Linked DNA regions of Homo sapiens: regions 1, 3, 4, 5 and 6 are each linked to region 2. The links are contacts of gene promoters, found by promoter capture Hi-C in blood cells and fetal thymus (Javierre and others, 2016). All regions are on one chromosome and are shown on one strand. The core of a region is centred on a gene start or on the middle of the fragment in contact, and the rest is flanking DNA. Distances in the headings are between cores, read along the strand shown.

Evidence for each region. Contacts are between HindIII fragments. The CHiCAGO score rates a contact against its expected background, and 5 or more counts as called.
Region 1: a fragment that was not itself captured here is called in contact with the fragment with the promoter of ADAMTS6 in region 2 in 7 of 17 cell types (M0 macrophages, M1 macrophages, megakaryocytes and 4 more); the score reaches 12.3 in M0 macrophages.
Region 3: a contact is called between a fragment that was not itself captured here and the fragment with the promoter of ADAMTS6 in region 2, in 7 of 17 cell types (M1 macrophages, M0 macrophages, total B cells and 4 more). The highest score is 11.8, in M1 macrophages.
Region 4: a fragment that was not itself captured here is called in contact with the fragment with the promoter of ADAMTS6 in region 2 in 6 of 17 cell types (M0 macrophages, M1 macrophages, erythroblasts and 3 more); the score reaches 7.1 in M0 macrophages.
Region 5: a fragment that was not itself captured here is called in contact with the fragment with the promoter of ADAMTS6 in region 2 in 16 of 17 cell types (M0 macrophages, naive CD4 T cells, naive CD8 T cells and 13 more); the score reaches 35.0 in M0 macrophages.
Region 6: a fragment that was not itself captured here is called in contact with the fragment with the promoter of ADAMTS6 in region 2 in 2 of 17 cell types (M1 macrophages and M0 macrophages); the score reaches 8.4 in M1 macrophages.

The regions. Positions count from the first base shown.
Region 1 is chr5:64,916,766-64,919,465 of GRCh38, forward strand. All of the region lies in intron 11 of CWC27 (CWC27 spliceosome associated cyclophilin), which reads left to right. Among named protein-coding and RNA genes, the nearest start is that of CWC27, 150 kb to the left of the region's middle. The HindIII fragment of the contact is 4,883 bases long and covers 1-2,700 here.
Region 2 is chr5:65,480,475-65,483,174 of GRCh38, forward strand. ADAMTS6 (ADAM metallopeptidase with thrombospondin type 1 motif 6) reads right to left here and starts at 1,446. Exons shown (of 25, transcript NM_197941.4): 1 at 869-1,446. RefSeq lists enhancers at 1,199-1,558, 1,326-1,825, 1,599-1,648. The HindIII fragment of the contact is 619 bases long and covers 1,255-1,873 here.
Region 3 is chr5:64,898,593-64,901,292 of GRCh38, forward strand. The region is part of intron 11 of CWC27 (CWC27 spliceosome associated cyclophilin); the gene reads left to right. Among named protein-coding and RNA genes, the nearest start is that of CWC27, 130 kb to the left of the region's middle. The HindIII fragment of the contact is 1,609 bases long and covers 629-2,237 here.
Region 4 is chr5:64,881,241-64,883,940 of GRCh38, forward strand. All of the region lies in intron 10 of CWC27 (CWC27 spliceosome associated cyclophilin), which reads left to right. Among named protein-coding and RNA genes, the nearest start is that of CWC27, 110 kb to the left of the region's middle. The HindIII fragment of the contact is 3,274 bases long and covers 1-2,700 here.
Region 5 is chr5:64,954,840-64,957,539 of GRCh38, forward strand. The region is part of intron 11 of CWC27 (CWC27 spliceosome associated cyclophilin); the gene reads left to right. Among named protein-coding and RNA genes, the nearest start is that of CWC27, 190 kb to the left of the region's middle. The HindIII fragment of the contact is 6,761 bases long and covers 1-2,700 here.
Region 6 is chr5:64,933,909-64,936,608 of GRCh38, forward strand. All of the region lies in intron 11 of CWC27 (CWC27 spliceosome associated cyclophilin), which reads left to right. Among named protein-coding and RNA genes, the nearest start is that of CWC27, 170 kb to the left of the region's middle. The HindIII fragment of the contact is 2,397 bases long and covers 165-2,561 here.

The DNA of each region.
Region 1 (2,700 bases), core at 195-2,694, 560 kb before region 2:
TCTTAGCCTCACTTTCTTCATCTGTAAAATTGGCATGTTCATTTGTTTATTGCGAGGTTACAGTATGTAAAGTATGTAACCTCTGAAATATGTGGTAACTTTTGGTGGCAGTAGTAGTATTAGTAGTAGTAGTAGTAGTAGTAGTAGTAGTAGTAGTAGTAGTAGCAGTGGTAGTAGACGACTTGTACTGACTAGTAGCTCTTTGTTGCAAGGTGATCTTTGGGTTCAGGACCTCAGGTGGTATTTTTGAAGGATTAATAGGGATGTTGTCACCCTTTTTACCCTGAGCTGGCTAAAGAGATAGTCAAAGTCCCCATGTACCTATAAGGCTTGTGTTCTCATTCCTCTACAAAACTGACTGTGTTCTCTAATAACTATATGATGGGCTGGGAGATTAATTTTGCAGTATTTTGTGATGTCCAGCTCTTCCCCTGCATTTTCACTACTTCTACACGTGTTCTTATCCAAGGTGCCATCCATCTTCGGTAGGCCTCTGCATACATATTGTGACTAGTGGAGACAAAGTGAGGCACTAGAGCCTCTGGCATTAGTTGGCATATTTCCTTGTCCAAGTAGGGAATCTGGCAGTATCTTCTTTTTATATATTATTCCATTGCTCTCAACTGCTTCAGGAAAATTGAATTATGTTAGTTTTTCCAAGGAAGGAACAGAGGCCCTTTTGTCTGATGTGTTGGTTAATTCTATATGTCAGCTTCACTGGGCGATGGGGTGCCCAGGTATTTGGTAAGACATTATTCTCTGTGTGTCTGTGAAGGTGTTTGGTGATAAAATTGGCATTTGAATTGGTAGACTGAGTAGAGCAGATTACCCTTCCTAATGTGGGTGGCCCTCATCCAATCAATTGAGGGCCTGAATAGAACAAAAAGGCTGATCCTCCTGCAAATAAGGAGGAACTCCATCTGCCTATCTTCTTTGAACTGGGACATTTGTTTCTTCCTTCTCAGACTCAACCAAAATATTGACTCTTGTTGGGTCTGAAGCCTGCTGGCTTTCAGACTGGAACTTACACTATCAGCTCTCCTGGGTCTCAGGCCTTTGAACTCAAACTGGAACTACATCACTGGCGCTCCTGGTCTCCAGCTTGCTGACTGCAGACCTTGAAACTTCTCGGGCTCCATTAACCTCTTTTATATATAGAGAGAGATACATACACACACACACACAAACATACACACACACACACATTGGTTGTATATCTGGAGAATCCTGATTAATATACCCGATAAATTCAAAACAAAACAAAACTTGAAAAAAAAATTTTTCAGGTGAATATTTGTTTTTTAGCATCTGAGTTTCAGTCCAAACAGGGAAGGAAAGAGAGGAAGTGTCTTCAAAAAATATAGACACCCCCCAAAAATATATTAAATCAATAATAATTTAGATCCAAGATGTTATTGATGGTTGGAGTATAGACCACTACCCATACAAAAAGCACTGTAGGAAATGGAGTTCTTCAGAGAGTAGAATTGTGGTTACCAAGGGCTAGGCAGGAAGGCAGATTGGGAAGATGTGGTCAAAGGATTCAAAATTTCAGTTAGAGAGGAGTAAGTTGAAGAGCTCTATTATACAAAATGGTGACTATGGTTAATAACAATGTATTATATCCTCGAATATTGCTGAGAGTAGGTTTTAAGTATTCTTGCCACAAATAAAAAAAAACTGTGTCAGGTATGTGAGGTAATGTATGTGTTAATTAGCTTGATTCAGCCATCCAATATATATTTCAAAACATGATGTTGTACACCAAAATATATACAACTGTTGTATATATATTCAAAAAGGGAAAAAAAGAAAATGGAGTTCTTAATTTAGCAGATGATGCTTAAATTCTTTTTAATCTAGAAAGTATCTATATTATTCTAAGATACAAAAATTAAAATAAGACCAGTTGGTCTTTACTGTTTTTCTCAGTTTTAACAAATGTAATGCAATCTTAGCTTGGATCTTCTCTGCTCTTTTTTCTTCATTTTTTCTGTTTAATATAATAGTATCTCTCACTTTCTTAAATGGTTGTATGTTACTGCTATGTTCTATGGAACATCTACCAGAGTCCTGTCCAATTCTCTACCCACCCACCTCCACGTCCATCCCTCAGTGATTCCACATTGAACATGAGCAAAGCCATTCTTCCGGAGTTTATAAAACCCTTCAAGATTATTGAAAATGAATGGTGTTATATAAATGTCATGTTGTTTCATAGCAGTTCTTAAAACAATGAGATAATGTCTGTTAAATAATTTTAAGTTCCATGGAGAAATGCAGGGCATAAATACAAGTCATTTTTTATTATGTGATTTCCATATATTTTTGCTGTACAATTTAAAACATTATAATCTCTAAAGATATAAATGCTTTCTTTGTGTTTCTATATGTATGTGTACACACGTATATGCTGCCTATATAAAATTAATAAATAATTTTGTTGCTTCGTTTTGTCATTTGGGCCCAGTAAATTTGTCACCATAAATACTGGCCAGAGAAAAATTAGAAATCTAAAGCAGTTTCTTTTAGTATTAGACATAGTGTTTACTTCTTAACTTTGTACTTGTGTATTACTGAAATTTTTTTCTTTTCTACTTTTATTTTAGGTTCAGAGGGTGCAAGTGCAGGTTTGTTACATGGGTAAATTGGGTGTCATTGAGGCTTGGTGTACACATGATCCCATCCCAAGGTAGTGAG
Region 2 (2,700 bases), core at 196-2,695:
CCAAACGCGTTGCACCGGCAGCTCAAATAAAAACAAGAGTAAGAAACTCACTCTCTTGTTCCCTCTCAGTGCGCTTTCTCAATCTCTCGCTCACTTTTCCTCTAGTACAGGGAAAGAAAGCATCAAAGACAGGAATTGTAGCACATATTATCAGAAAGAGGCTTCCCAATACCCCATTCCTGCACTCTCACTCTCCCTCCTCAATCCCTGAACTTTGGTCCCATACACCATATATACAGACCTACCCCGATAAACAAGGCTCCGGAGGGTTATGAGTCTAGCACGTCCCAAGTGGCCAAAAGTAAATCAAAAACACACGTTTCCATCTCTTTGATTAGCCTATTAAGAGCTTAACATGTCCTAGAGCATCGGGGCTACAGCTAGCACATTAATGCTACCCTCTGAGCCCAGGCATAAAATATGCACTTGTCTGAAGACTTAACGACACTGACATGAAACTACAAAATGCATAAGACTTTTCTGTAAGAAAACTGGAAATCAATTTAAAACACACACATCATTATTACCTTCCGGATTACTATTTGGTGATCAGTTAAAAGATTACAATAATCATAATCAAGTCCACTTCACAAAACATGTATTGTATATTCATAAAATAAACGTATTTTTTTTGCATCATAAAATAACTGCAAGTCCCAGAATTCTACAACCCCCGACAAGTCTGGAGTTAAAAAGATATCTATTTGTAAAATGAGTTCAGTCAAGCTCACTCATTGCCATTAAAAAAAAAAAAAAAAACACACACACAGAAAAAAAGTTTTCTAAGCGTTATTCGGAAGACAAGCAAAGCACAAGTTGTTGGTTTAAAAAAAAAAAGCTCCATTGAATATTGTTAAGTCTTCCTTACCGTTTTCATCTTCAAATTCTGATAAAAAGTAAGTTTCAGACAATAGAGATTGCACTGGACGACTCACGTACTCCCTCTCCTCTCTAACTTTTTTTAATTTTTTTTATTTTTTTATTTTTTGCCCCCCTTTGCAAAGCCACACCAGCCAGTTATTCTGCAGCCAGAATAAAACCCTATGGTCTGGCTAACCCGGGCTTTAGAGAACTGACTTTCCGATTTGGCAGAATAAGAGATGCCTTCAATACATCTAGGCTATCACTCTGAGATGCTGCCTTTGCAAACCCCCTTTCTCTCCCTCCCCACCCCCCAAAAAAGGAAAGGAAAAGAAAGAAAAGACGGGAAAAAAGACTTATTGGGGGTGGAAGTGGTGCCCTCTCTTCCTGGAAAGCTTAGTGCCTTTGCTATGCAAATAACATGTGCAGAGCATCAAAAGGTATCAGGAGAAAAGAAGACAAGAGGAGCAGGAAGGGCAGCAAAGTTTTGTTGAAGTAGCCCTAGATCTCACTACCGGCCCCCAGCCAACTTGAATTGCAGCAGGAGAAAATTTTGGCAGCTTTTCCTCGGAGGCAGAGCACACTGACGTCAGTCTGCAGATGTGCCTGGGCTGCGTCGGGTGCGCATGTGTCCTGGGTCGTCACGTGGAGGGGGAGGGGAGGTAGAGGTACAATCGGGGTAACCAACTACCAGCCATTCAGAAGGGCTTAGACAATGTCAACTTTTCCACACTGTGAATGAGAGAAATTCTGGCCTCTCTAACCTCTCTGTCCTATCTCATTCCGCCTCTTTTCCTCCTCCTCCTCTAAACTCTCTTAGAAATTCTAGCCTGGTTTGCTATTAGTTGTTTCTTGGAAAAATGAAGGGGGAGGGAGAAGGATGAATGACTTTAGATGGACTAATGTCACTGTTAAGATCTCTGGTGTCATTCTCCGTGTAATTTTATTTTTAAAATCCACACAATCAAAATGTTAAAACTTGCACGCAAACAGTGCCTCTGAGGAAACTTAAAGCTTAGATTCGTGCAGCAGGCACAAGACTCAGTAGCTACAAGTGTACAAAATGCCTGTGTTTTATACATACTTCAGCAAGTAAGGTTAGCACCAAAAGGGAAAGTAAACTAAAGTAAACTAATACCAGCACATTTTCCATTTGATTATCGACTTCAGGTTATGTGGAGCTTTAAAAGAAGAAGAAGAAGAAAAAAAAAAAGTAGGGGAGGAGGGAGCGGGGGAAGGAAGAGAGAAGCTTGCATTATTTCCAGATGAGGGTGAGACTGGATGGTGTTTTAAAGTGCAACCGGGAAAAGCCACAAGTGGAGTGTATTTTTTTAAGTCAGTCCATTGAATGAAACTTCAATGACTGCCCAAATGAAAATAAATCCGAAGTAGGACCCCACCACCAAAAAAAAAAAGGAAGGGAAAAAAACAGGAACCCTGCTGCGATCTCAAGATAAACAAACAAAACCTCAAAACTGGTTCTTCAACCTTCCCAATCCCACCCTCCCTCCCCCCTACACACAAGCTGCCAGTCCAGACTTTAAGGATAAAATACCGCTACAATGTAGCACTTTCACTTTCATTTGCTGAGAATGAAAGCCGCTGGGGAGAAAATGCCCAGTGTTTTCCATGTCCTAAGCAAGCAAACAAAGTCTGGCACATACATCGGAAACAGGAAAAAATGTGAAAATAGCTCAGGACAAATGTTGCCTTTCAACGGTGTAATCTGCTGCATCATTTATCTGTCTCTACCATTGAGTGTAGAATAGGGAGCTGTTTAAGAGTTTCCGAGGTTGGGGGCAGGGGAAAATTGACGCCTTGAAATTCCAGCCCTTAGTT
Region 3 (2,700 bases), core at 183-2,682, 580 kb before region 2:
ATTAGTGAAATTTCTATTGATAGTGCTAGTTTTATTAGCTACAAAAGAAGTTGCTGTTAAAAAAGAAAGAGGGAGAGAGAGGCAAGCAGATGGATAAAGACTCAAAAAATGCCATGTTTAAATAAGATTGAGGATTATTTCTCTCATGCAGAACAATTCAGGGTGAGCACTTCAGGACCAGCAGGTATTTAAGGACCCAAGTTTTTTTCATTTTTGTCTTTTTGGCATCTTCTGAGGTGTTATCATTGTCTGCATGATTCAACCCGACCCACCTCCATGCCTATATTCCAGCAACGGGGAAGAGGAAAGAGCAAGTACCAGACTGGTGACTTCATCTTTGAGGAGATGACCCAAAAGTTGCACAAAAGCACTTTCACTCTTATCATATTATACTGAAATCACATGGCCATACCTAGCTGTAAAAAAGGCTGAGAAATAAAGTCTCCAGTTGAGTGTCCAAGTGGCTGGCTAACTAAATATCAAGGATGGGAGATATATGGGGTTGATTCCTTTACTAAAAGGTAAAAGGGATGACTGAATTCAGGGAGAAAATTACTAGATTCTGTTATATAATATGAACAAAATCCTAGGAAGAACCAAATAGGCGGTAGTCCATTGGGTCAGGAAAAGCTTGACCAAGTATCTGAGCTATGTTTTGAGAGATGAATAAAATTCCACTGCAAAATGAAGGGCAATAAGTATAACAGTAGTTGGAAAGGTGCCTGGCAGAGCAGGAGCCATAGATTCATCTCTATATGCCTAATACTTTGCATAGTAATGGGCAAAATAATAAGCATTCAACAAACATTTGCTGAAGTAATGAATGAAACTGGCTTTTGCTTAAGTGAATAATCACATTATTTGTAAACTAAGGAAAAAAAGAATAACAATGAAAAAGACAATTTTTTGAGTATGAATCTATGACAACACGAAGAGCACAGATGCACATTTAAATAATGGGCAAAGTTTCAGATAAGAGCTATGAACATATTATGAAACAGGACAATGTAATTTGGTGGTATGTACCAGAAAGGGCCCAGTCAAAAGACAGAATCCACAAACAAAACTTTTGAACAGAAACGAAAACATTTGTAATAGCTTTATTGAAGAATAATTTAAAGTGAACTGTTTGACATGTTTTGACGTATGTCTATACCTGTGAAAACATCACCACAATCTAGATAATGAACATGTCCTTCAAGGCCCAACATGTTCTCATGCCCCTTGTTAACCCCCTCTCTGATCCCCTGGCAACCACTAAAGTCTTCTATCACTATAAAATAGTTGTATTTTCTAAATCTTATTTAAATGAAATCATATTCTCTATGTACTTTTTTGTCTGACTTCTTTCAATCAACATATGCATTTTCAGATTTATCCATGTTGTATATATCAGTAGTTTGTTCCTTTTATTGCTAAGTAGTATTCCATTATATAGATATACCACAAGTATTTTATAACCATATGCTATTATTTTGCTTGAGCAAATGTCTGGAAGTGGAATGGCTAAGTCATGTGATAGGTGTATGTTCAACTTTTTGAAAACTGCCAAACTGTTTTCCAAACTGGTTGTGCCATTGTACATCCTACAAGTAGTGCATAAACTATCCTGTTAACTCCATATCCTTGTTAACACTTCGTGTGGTCACTTTCTAATTTTAGCCATTCTAATAGTTTGCAGTGTTACTTTGTGGTTTTGATTTACATTTAATTAATAATGATGTTGAGCATTGTTTCATGTGCTTATTTGTCATCCGTATATATTCTTTGGTGCAGTATATATTCAACTCTTTTTATCCATTTTTTATTGTGTTGTTTGTTATTTACTATTGAATTTTTAGACTTCTTTATATTCTTTGGATACAAATCCTTTATCAGATATATGATTTGTAAATATTTCTCTCAAACGGTGGCTTATATTTTTTGTCCTCTTAATGGTGTCTTTCAAAAAACAAAACTTAAATTTTGGGAAAGTCTAACTTATTAACTTTGTTCATTTTTGAATCTAGTTATTGGTTCTAAGAAATCTTTGCCTGACTCAAACTCAAAAAGATCTTCTATGTGTTTTTTTTTTAGAAATTTTGTAGTTTTAAGATTTTACATTAAGATTTGATTCACTTTGACTTAATGTTTATATATACAGTCACATATCCCTTAACAATGGGGATACAGTCTGCGAAATGTGTTGCTAGGTGATTTTATCGTTGTGTAAACACCATGTGAGTGTTCTTACACAAAGCTTACTCAAAACTAGATAGTATAGTTTACTATACACCTAGGCTATATGGTGTGGCCCAAGCTTGTCCAATCTGTGGCCAGTGGGCCACATGTGGCCCAGGACAGCTCTGAATGTGCCCCAACACAAATTCATAAACCTTCTTAAAACATTATGAGACTTTTTTGTGATTTTTTTTTTTTAGCTCATCAGCTATCATTAGTGTTAGCATATTTTATGTATGGCCCAAGACAATTCTTCCAGCGTGACCCAGGGAAGCCAAAAGATTGGATACCCCTGGTATAGGCTATTGTTCCTAGGCTATAATCCTGTATAGCATATTACTGTACTGAACATTGCAGGCGATTGTAATACACAGGTAAGTATTTGTGTATTTAAACATATCTAAACATAGAAAAGGTACAGTAAAAATACGGTATAAAAGAGATGGAGACCATCCTGGCTAACACAGTGAAACCCCGTCT
Region 4 (2,700 bases), core at 122-2,621, 600 kb before region 2:
TCTGTATAGACCTACCCTTCTCTGTCTCACCTTGTCATTTTTGAGTTTTTATTCATCATTGCTCAGTTTGTATATGATATGACTACATTAATATAGTGTGTCTAAATCTTTGACTATTTAAGGATAGATTTTTAGAAGCAAGCATTGTGCATTCATTGCCCTCTTAAAATGATGAACAGAGTTGTTTGCTGTATATAGTAGAAATAACATTCATTTATAATAAATAATAAAGAACTATGCCCATATGACAGACAGCTCTTAACAGTGGTGCTATTTTAAATAGAGGACCTAAATCATAATAGCTACTGTTTGTTGAACATGTCTTGTGTGCTCAATATTTTACATAACTTACCCCTAATTTATAGTTGAATAAACTGAGTCTCAGAGAAGTTAAGTAACTATTCTCAGGTCACCTGGCTAATAAGTGATAGAGTTGGCTTTTAAATCAATACTTTCTGAATCCAAAGTTAAGTCTTATAATAGCTATGTTCTACTCCCTCTACAATAGTATCGTAAACAGTCTATACTTTCTTTGCCTCATTCTTTGTGTACTTCAAATTATTCTCATAACTAGTTTGTCTACCCTAGAAATGCACCATTTCCTCTTCAACTCTCAAAATAATCTCTACCTCAAAGACCTTAGTGTTCGGAAAACATCATCTAAATGACTGAATTACTTACCAAATTGAAAGCTATACAAAGTAGCATAATAAAAAGATAGGAATGTTTGATGGAGTAAATGGAAGATGTGTTTGCTGTTCCCTGTGCAGCGGCTACCCAGTTCCATTTTTATGTCATGCCAAGTAAATATGGGATATCTACAGTTGTGTTCATATAGCTTTAAGAAATAGGAAATAATTGTACTTACCTGAGAACACATAATGACAGCCTAAACTAGGCATTGATGGTTAAAGTCAAGAGGAGCTGTTATATGTGAGAGAGATTAGAAAATGATGTACTTCAACACTGATTCAATGAAAGGAAAGGGAGAAGAGTCCAAGGGAAATTTAAAGTCTGGTCATTCAAAAGATTATGGTTCCATGATCAAATAGAGACTTCAGGAGAAGGAACAAATTTGGGCAAGAAGGAGACGATTTCAGGTTTGGACATAAAGAATTTGTAATTATGTTGAGATGTCCAGCCTGCTGTTTCTCTAGAGTTGAGTCCTTGAAATGAGGCTAGTCTCAATTGAGATTTGCTATAAGTGTAAAATGCACACTGTATTTTGAAGACTTAGTACAAAAGAGAGTGTTGAATATCACATTAATATTCTCTATATTGGTTTTATGTTAAATTGGTAATATTTTGGATATATTAAGTATGTAAAAATTAATGTTTCCTTTTAGTTGTTGTTGTTGTTGTTGTTGTTTTGAGACGGAGTCTCGCTCTGTCGCCCAGGCTGGAGTGCAGTGGTGCGATCTTGGCTCACTGCAGGCTCCGCCTCTCGGGTTTGCACCATTTTCCTGCCTCAGCCTCCCGAATAGCTGGGAGTACAGGTGCCCGCCACCCCGCCTGGCCAATGTTTTGTATTTTTTTTAGTAGAGACGGAGTTTCACCATGTTAGCCAGGATGGTCTCGATCTCCTGACCTCGTGATCCACCTGCCTTGGCCTCCCAAAGTGCTGGGATTACAGGCGTGAGCCACCACACCCGGCTCCTTTTAGTTTTTAAATCTGTCTACTAGGAAACTTAAAATTGTATGTGTATTAGTCTGTTCTCATGCTGCTAATAAAGACATACCCAAGACTGGGGTAATTTATAAAGAAAAGAGGTTTAATTGACTCACAGTTCTGCATGACTGGGGAGGCCTCAGGAAACTTACAATCATGGTGGAAGACATCTCTTCACAGGGTGACAGGAGAGAGAATGAGTGCCAGCAGTGGAAATACCAAATGCTTATAAAACCATCAGATCTCATGAGAACTCACTCACTATCATGAGAATAGCATGGGAGAAACTGCCACCATGATCCAATCACTTTCCATGAGGTCCCTCCCACAACACATGGGGATTATGGGAACTACAATTCAAAATGAGATTTGGGTGGGGATACAGCCATACCATATCAGTATTAAATTTCTGAGTTAATCTACGCAGAAATTTGTAGAAGATAGGTACAAATGCAGGACCATTAAGGCAAAACATCTACATTTGGAAATAACCTATATAGGAGTGATAGTTGATGTTATGAGATTAGATTAAAATGCCAGTGTACAAAGTATAGAGATGAGAAAAATGTCAACAATTATAATATGGGAAGAAAAAGAGTAACCAGGAGAAGAATTGGAGATTCAAAATGCTAAAATGGTATATAAGCCTGACTGGGATAGAATTCTAAGAAGAAAGGAGAAGGAAGGAATAATTAACATCATTGAATGATAGAGGCCAAAAAGGAAGAGGAGAAATGAGAAAAGGCCATTGAATTTGGTTGATATAGAAGCAGTTTCAGTAGACTGTAAGAGGGATAGATTGCAAGAGATTAAGAAGTTAGAGGTTAATAAAGCAGACTGTATAGGTAAACTATTCTTTCAAGAATGGAGTCCATTTGTGAAGATAATAATCACTTGATTTGAGCCAAGTCCAGAGAAATTTGAGCATTTTTGTTTGCTGAATAAAAGGATCAGTGAGGTGGGAGTGTTTGAAATTGTAAAAGAGAGAAGATAATTTCTATAATAAGATCCTAGAGCATTGTATCCCAAAC
Region 5 (2,700 bases), core at 72-2,571, 530 kb before region 2:
TCCATCATTAGGCCAACAAATACTGTTTATTCTTTAATCAAATTCAGAATTATAGGTAAGCCCCATGATAAGCAGTGCTACATTTGAACATCCAAATTTATAGAAAATATAAACTAAGTTTTGATAATTCACAAAATAATTTTCTATGTTTCTCTCAATTATGAGTTTTATTGGTACTTTGGAAATAGGATTTAATATAGAGAAATATTTCTTATTCAAACAATCTATGTTAATAAAATGAAAAATATGATATCTACTCCCTGCTTCTTCAAATGATACTTAATCAGCTGAAGGCAGTCATAACTATAAAGTACCTTACAGACATAAAATATAGTGCCTTGTATTCACTGCCAAATAATAATAATACCTCATTTATATAACATCAACACTTTACAAAGTCATGTCACATGCTTCATTACATTTAGTTCTGTAACAGTCCTGAGAAGTAGATTAAACAAATATTATAGTTTCTACTTTGCAAATGAAGAAACCAAAGTATTAAAGATATTTAGTACTCACCCTAACTTAAATGGTAGATTTGAGATTTTATCCAATATTTTTTCCACTGTAAAACTGCAAAGTGCTGTTTCCTCAAAAAATAAAACAAGCCACAAGCAATATGACCTGTTAGCTGTATGCCAGAATCAGCAGTCTGATTGCTAGCCTACAATTCACAGCATTACCACTAAAATTGAGCAGGGCGACCCCCATTCAACTCACCATCCGACCTCAGGTTCCAGAAAGCCCATTTGGACACAAGTAGACTTCAAATGGAGCATAGTTGGATGAGCTTTTCCCCTACCTTCACTCCATCTCAAAACTTAATTTGTCAGAGATGTCATTAATCTGACATTAATCTGGTCTGGTTGGTCTAGGCAGGTAAAAAATAAAAATGAAAAAAAAAGTCAAGAGTGAAACACAGTCAGAAACAACTGGATATGGTGCTTTCAAATAGTTGTACATATTTTCATATTTCAATTAAAATATTCTCATAGATACAGAAAAATAATTTTACCAGGATATTTTCCAAAGTTCCTTATTAAAATTATTAGGAAAAAAAATCCCAAGATCTTGGGGAGTCAGTCCCTCTCTCTCCCTGTCTCACCTTTGCACTTGCAGTCACTAAACTACTAAGGAATGCTTTGTTCACTGATAAGAGGTGTGTGGGCATCAGGAAACTTGAAATTTTACTGCCATTTTATCAACTAACTAAAGCTAGTACTATGATAGAAAATAACCCTTAAAAAATTCTTAGACACGAGTCCAAACAACATAACAATCTAGAATGGTTCAACACATTTAACTTTATAAAAGGCTCACAAATAATCAATAATTAGGTATAGGAATATTAGAAATAAAAATTTTTATAAGAGGCTCACAAACACCTATGAATTATTTTTGGCAGTATAGGACCAACAAGATATAAAATGTGGCTGCTCATTGCTTACCAAAATAAAGTTCAAATTTCTTTATTTGGCATTCAGAGACTTTCATGATCAGAGTTTTGTCTTATTTTCTTTATTCCCCATCTTATTTATACATTCTTCATTTTCAAAGAATAATTTTTCTCTGCCTCCTGTGCATCCTGCCCTGTATTTCCTTTGGTTGTTATGTCTTGGTTATTATTTCTCGTTTACCTGCTATTGCCAAATCTTATTTCTCCTTTAATGCCCACTTATGCTGCCACTTCCTCTACCCAGCTTTCCCTCTCCCTTCTCTGCATGAATTTCCTAAATATCAGAACCTCTCATGTTATTTGTACCACTACACAGTAATAGTGTATGTCTTACCCTTTGTCCAGTATATAAGCTCCTAACCTGGAAAACTGTCATTGGTTTCCCTCACTCCTACGCATAATAGTACCACCTACCACCATAACTGTTTGCACTAAATAGAGTAGAAAAAGGATGAGCTTTGAAGTCTGACAGCCTTGGATTCAAATCCTTGCTTCATCATTTATTAGCCATATAAACTGGGGTAAGAGATAACCTATCTAAACCTCTGTTTCCTCATGCATGAAATAGGGATAATAATACCCCTTCTGTTGTTACAGAATTAAGTAATAAAGCATGCACAGTATCTTAACATTGTGTCTTAGACATGCTAGATCCTAAAAAAATGGTGATGGTGCTGGCAGAAGTGGTCATACTTATATTTTAGAAGCTACTTTATTGCTTCAGTTTCCTCAATCACATAGGAAATCTAAAGAATACTCTGCAATACCACACATGCAAGTATTTTAAGGACTGTTTTGAACAGATTTGTAAATTCTTATAACTACTTGGAGAAAATTACCTTATGTTACAAAACAATAGAACCCTCCTTTAAGTACTGTTAGAAACACAGATATTCTGCAATGCTTAATTCGCCTTGGGCAATTTTAGGTAGTACTTCTTGAGTCTCCTTTCTCATTGGCTTCATAAATTCTTTTTATCTTGAAGAATTTTTTTTTTCTTACTGCTACAACACGGGGTACATAATTTGTAGTTTCCACATCCAGAATGGCAGGGCAACATGGAAATGTTTTCAAAATGGCCATCGAGCTACAAGAATTGCGGATCACACCATCTGCAGAAGCACAAAGTGTGCTCTCTTGAGGTACCTGGGGGGCAACATCAATCAACCTGTGTGCTAGTCCAGAGGTTTGCGTGAGGGAGAATGAGCAAATTTAAACAGGAACAACAAACTACAGCTGATAGG
Region 6 (2,700 bases), core at 113-2,612, 550 kb before region 2:
TGACACTGTTAAGTAATTTACAAAGTCCAAATTTTGTCTTTTATTCTAATAATGTCCTTCATAGCTGTTATTTTTTCCCATTCCAGGATTCAATCCAAGATAATGCAGAAAGTATAGTTATAGAGAGATGTTTTGAGATTATGTAAATATATCATTCCTTATCAAGCTTTCACCCTTAGTTTTTTTGTTTTGTTTTGTTTTGTTTGTATTATACTTTAAGTTCTGGGATACATGTGCAGAACGTGCAGGTTTGTTACATAGGTATACATGTGCCACCATCGTTTGCTGCACCTATCAACCCATCGTCTACATTAGGCATTTCTCCTAATGCTATTTCTCCCCTAGAACCCCACTTCCCAACAGACCCTGGTGTGTGATGTTCCCTTCCCTGTGTCCATGTGTTCTCATTGTTCAACTCCCACTTATGAGTGAGAACATGTGGTGTTTGGTTTTCTGTTCCTGTGTTAGTTTGCTGAGAATTATGGTTTCCAGCTTCATCCATGTCCCTGCAAAGGACATGAGTTCATCCTTTTCTATGGCTGCATAGTATTCCATGGTGTATATGTGCCACATTTTCTTTATCCAGTCTATCATTGATGAGCGTTTGGGTTGGTTCCAAGTCTTTGCTATTGTGAATAGTGCTGCAGTAAACATAGGTGTGCATATGTCTTTATAGTAGAATGATTTATAATCTGTTGGGTATATACCCAGTAATGGGATTGCTGGGTCAAATGGTATTTCTGGTTCTAGATCCTTCAGGAATCACCACACTGTCTTCCACAATGGTTGAACTAATCTACACTCCCACCAACAGTGTAAAAGCATTCGTAATTCTCCACATCCTCTCCAGCATCTGTTGTTTCCTGACTTTTTAATCATCACCATTCTAACTGGCGTGAGATAGTGTCTCACTGTGGTTTTGATTTGCATTTCTCTAATGACCAGTGATGATGAGCTTTTTTTCATATGTTTGTTGTCTGCATAAATGTCTTCTTTTGAGAAGTATCTGTTCATATCCTTTTCCCACTTTTTGATGAGGTCATTTGGTTTTTTCTTGTAGATTTATTTAAGTTCCTTGTAGATTCTGGATATTAGCCCATTGTCAAATGGATAGATTGCAAAAATTCTCTCCCATTCTGTAGGTTGCCTGTTCACTCTGATGGTAGTTTCTTTTGCTGTGCAGAAGCTCTTTAGTTTAATTAGATCTGATTTGTCAATTTTGGCTTTCGTTGCCATTGCTTTTCATGTTTTAGTCATGAAGTCTTTGCCCATGCCTATGTCCTGAATGGTAATGCCTAGGTTTTCTTCTAGGGTTTTATGGTCCTAGGTTTTACGTTTAAGTCTTTAATCCATCTTGAGTTAATTCTTGTGTAAGATGTAAGGAAGGGGTCCAGTTTCAGTTTCCTGCTTATGGCTAGCCAGTTTTCCCAACACCATTTATTAAATAGGGAATCCTTTCCCCATTGCTTGTTTTCATCAGGTTTATCAAAAATCAGATGGTTGTAGATGTGTGACATTATTTCTGAGGCCTCTGTCCTATTCCATTGGTCTGTATGTCTGTTTTGGTACCAGTACCATGCTGTGTTGGTTACTGTAGCCTTGTAGTATAGTTTGAAGTCAGGTAGCATGATGGCTCCAGCTTTGTTCTTTTTGCTTAGGATTGTCTTGGCTATACAGCCTCTTCTTTGGTCCCATATGAAATTTAAGGTAGTTTTTTCTATTTCTGTGAAGCAAATCAATGGTAGCTTGATGGGGATAGCATTGAATCTATAAATTACTTTGGGCAGTATGGCCATTTTCATGATACTGATTCTTCCTATCCATGAGCATGGAATGTTTTTGCGTTTGTGTCCTCTCTTACTTCCTTGAGCAGTGGCTTATAGTCCTCCTTCAAGAGGTCCTTCACATCCCTTGTGAGTTGTATTCCTAGGTATTTTATTCTCTTTGTAGCAATTGTGAATGGGAGTTCACTCATGATTTGGCTCTCTGTTTGTCTATTATTGATGTATAGTAATACTTGTGATTTTTGCACATTTATTTTGTATCCTGAGACTTTCCTGAAGTTGCTTATCAGCTTAAGGAGATTTTGGGCTGAGATGATGTGGTTTTCTAAATATACAATCATGTCATCTACAAACAGGGACAATTTGACTTCCTCTCTTCCTATTTGAATACCCTTTATTTATTTCTCTTGCCTGATTGCCCTGGCCAGAACTTCCAATATTATGTTGAATAGGAATGATGAGAGAGGGCATCCTTGTCTTGTGCTGGTTTTCAAAGGGAATGCTTCCAGCTTTTGCCCAGTCAGTATGATATTAGCTGTGTGTTTGTTGTAAGTAGCTGTTATTATTTTGAGATACGTTCCATCAATACCTAGTCTACTGAGAGTTTTTAGCATGAAGGGCTATTGAATTTTATCGAAGGCCTTTTCTGCATCTATTGAGATAATCATGTGGTTTTTGTCATTGGTTCTGTTTATGTGATGGATTACGTTTATTGATTCGCCTATGTTGAACCAGCCATGCATCCCAGGGATTTAGCTGACTTGATCGTGGTGGATAAGCTTTTTGATGTGCTGCTGGATTTGGTTTGCCAGTATCTTATTGAGGATTTTCACATCAATGTTCATCAGGGATATTGGCCTGAAATTTTCTTTTTCTGTTGTGTCTCTGCAGGTTTTGGTATCAGGATGATGCTGGC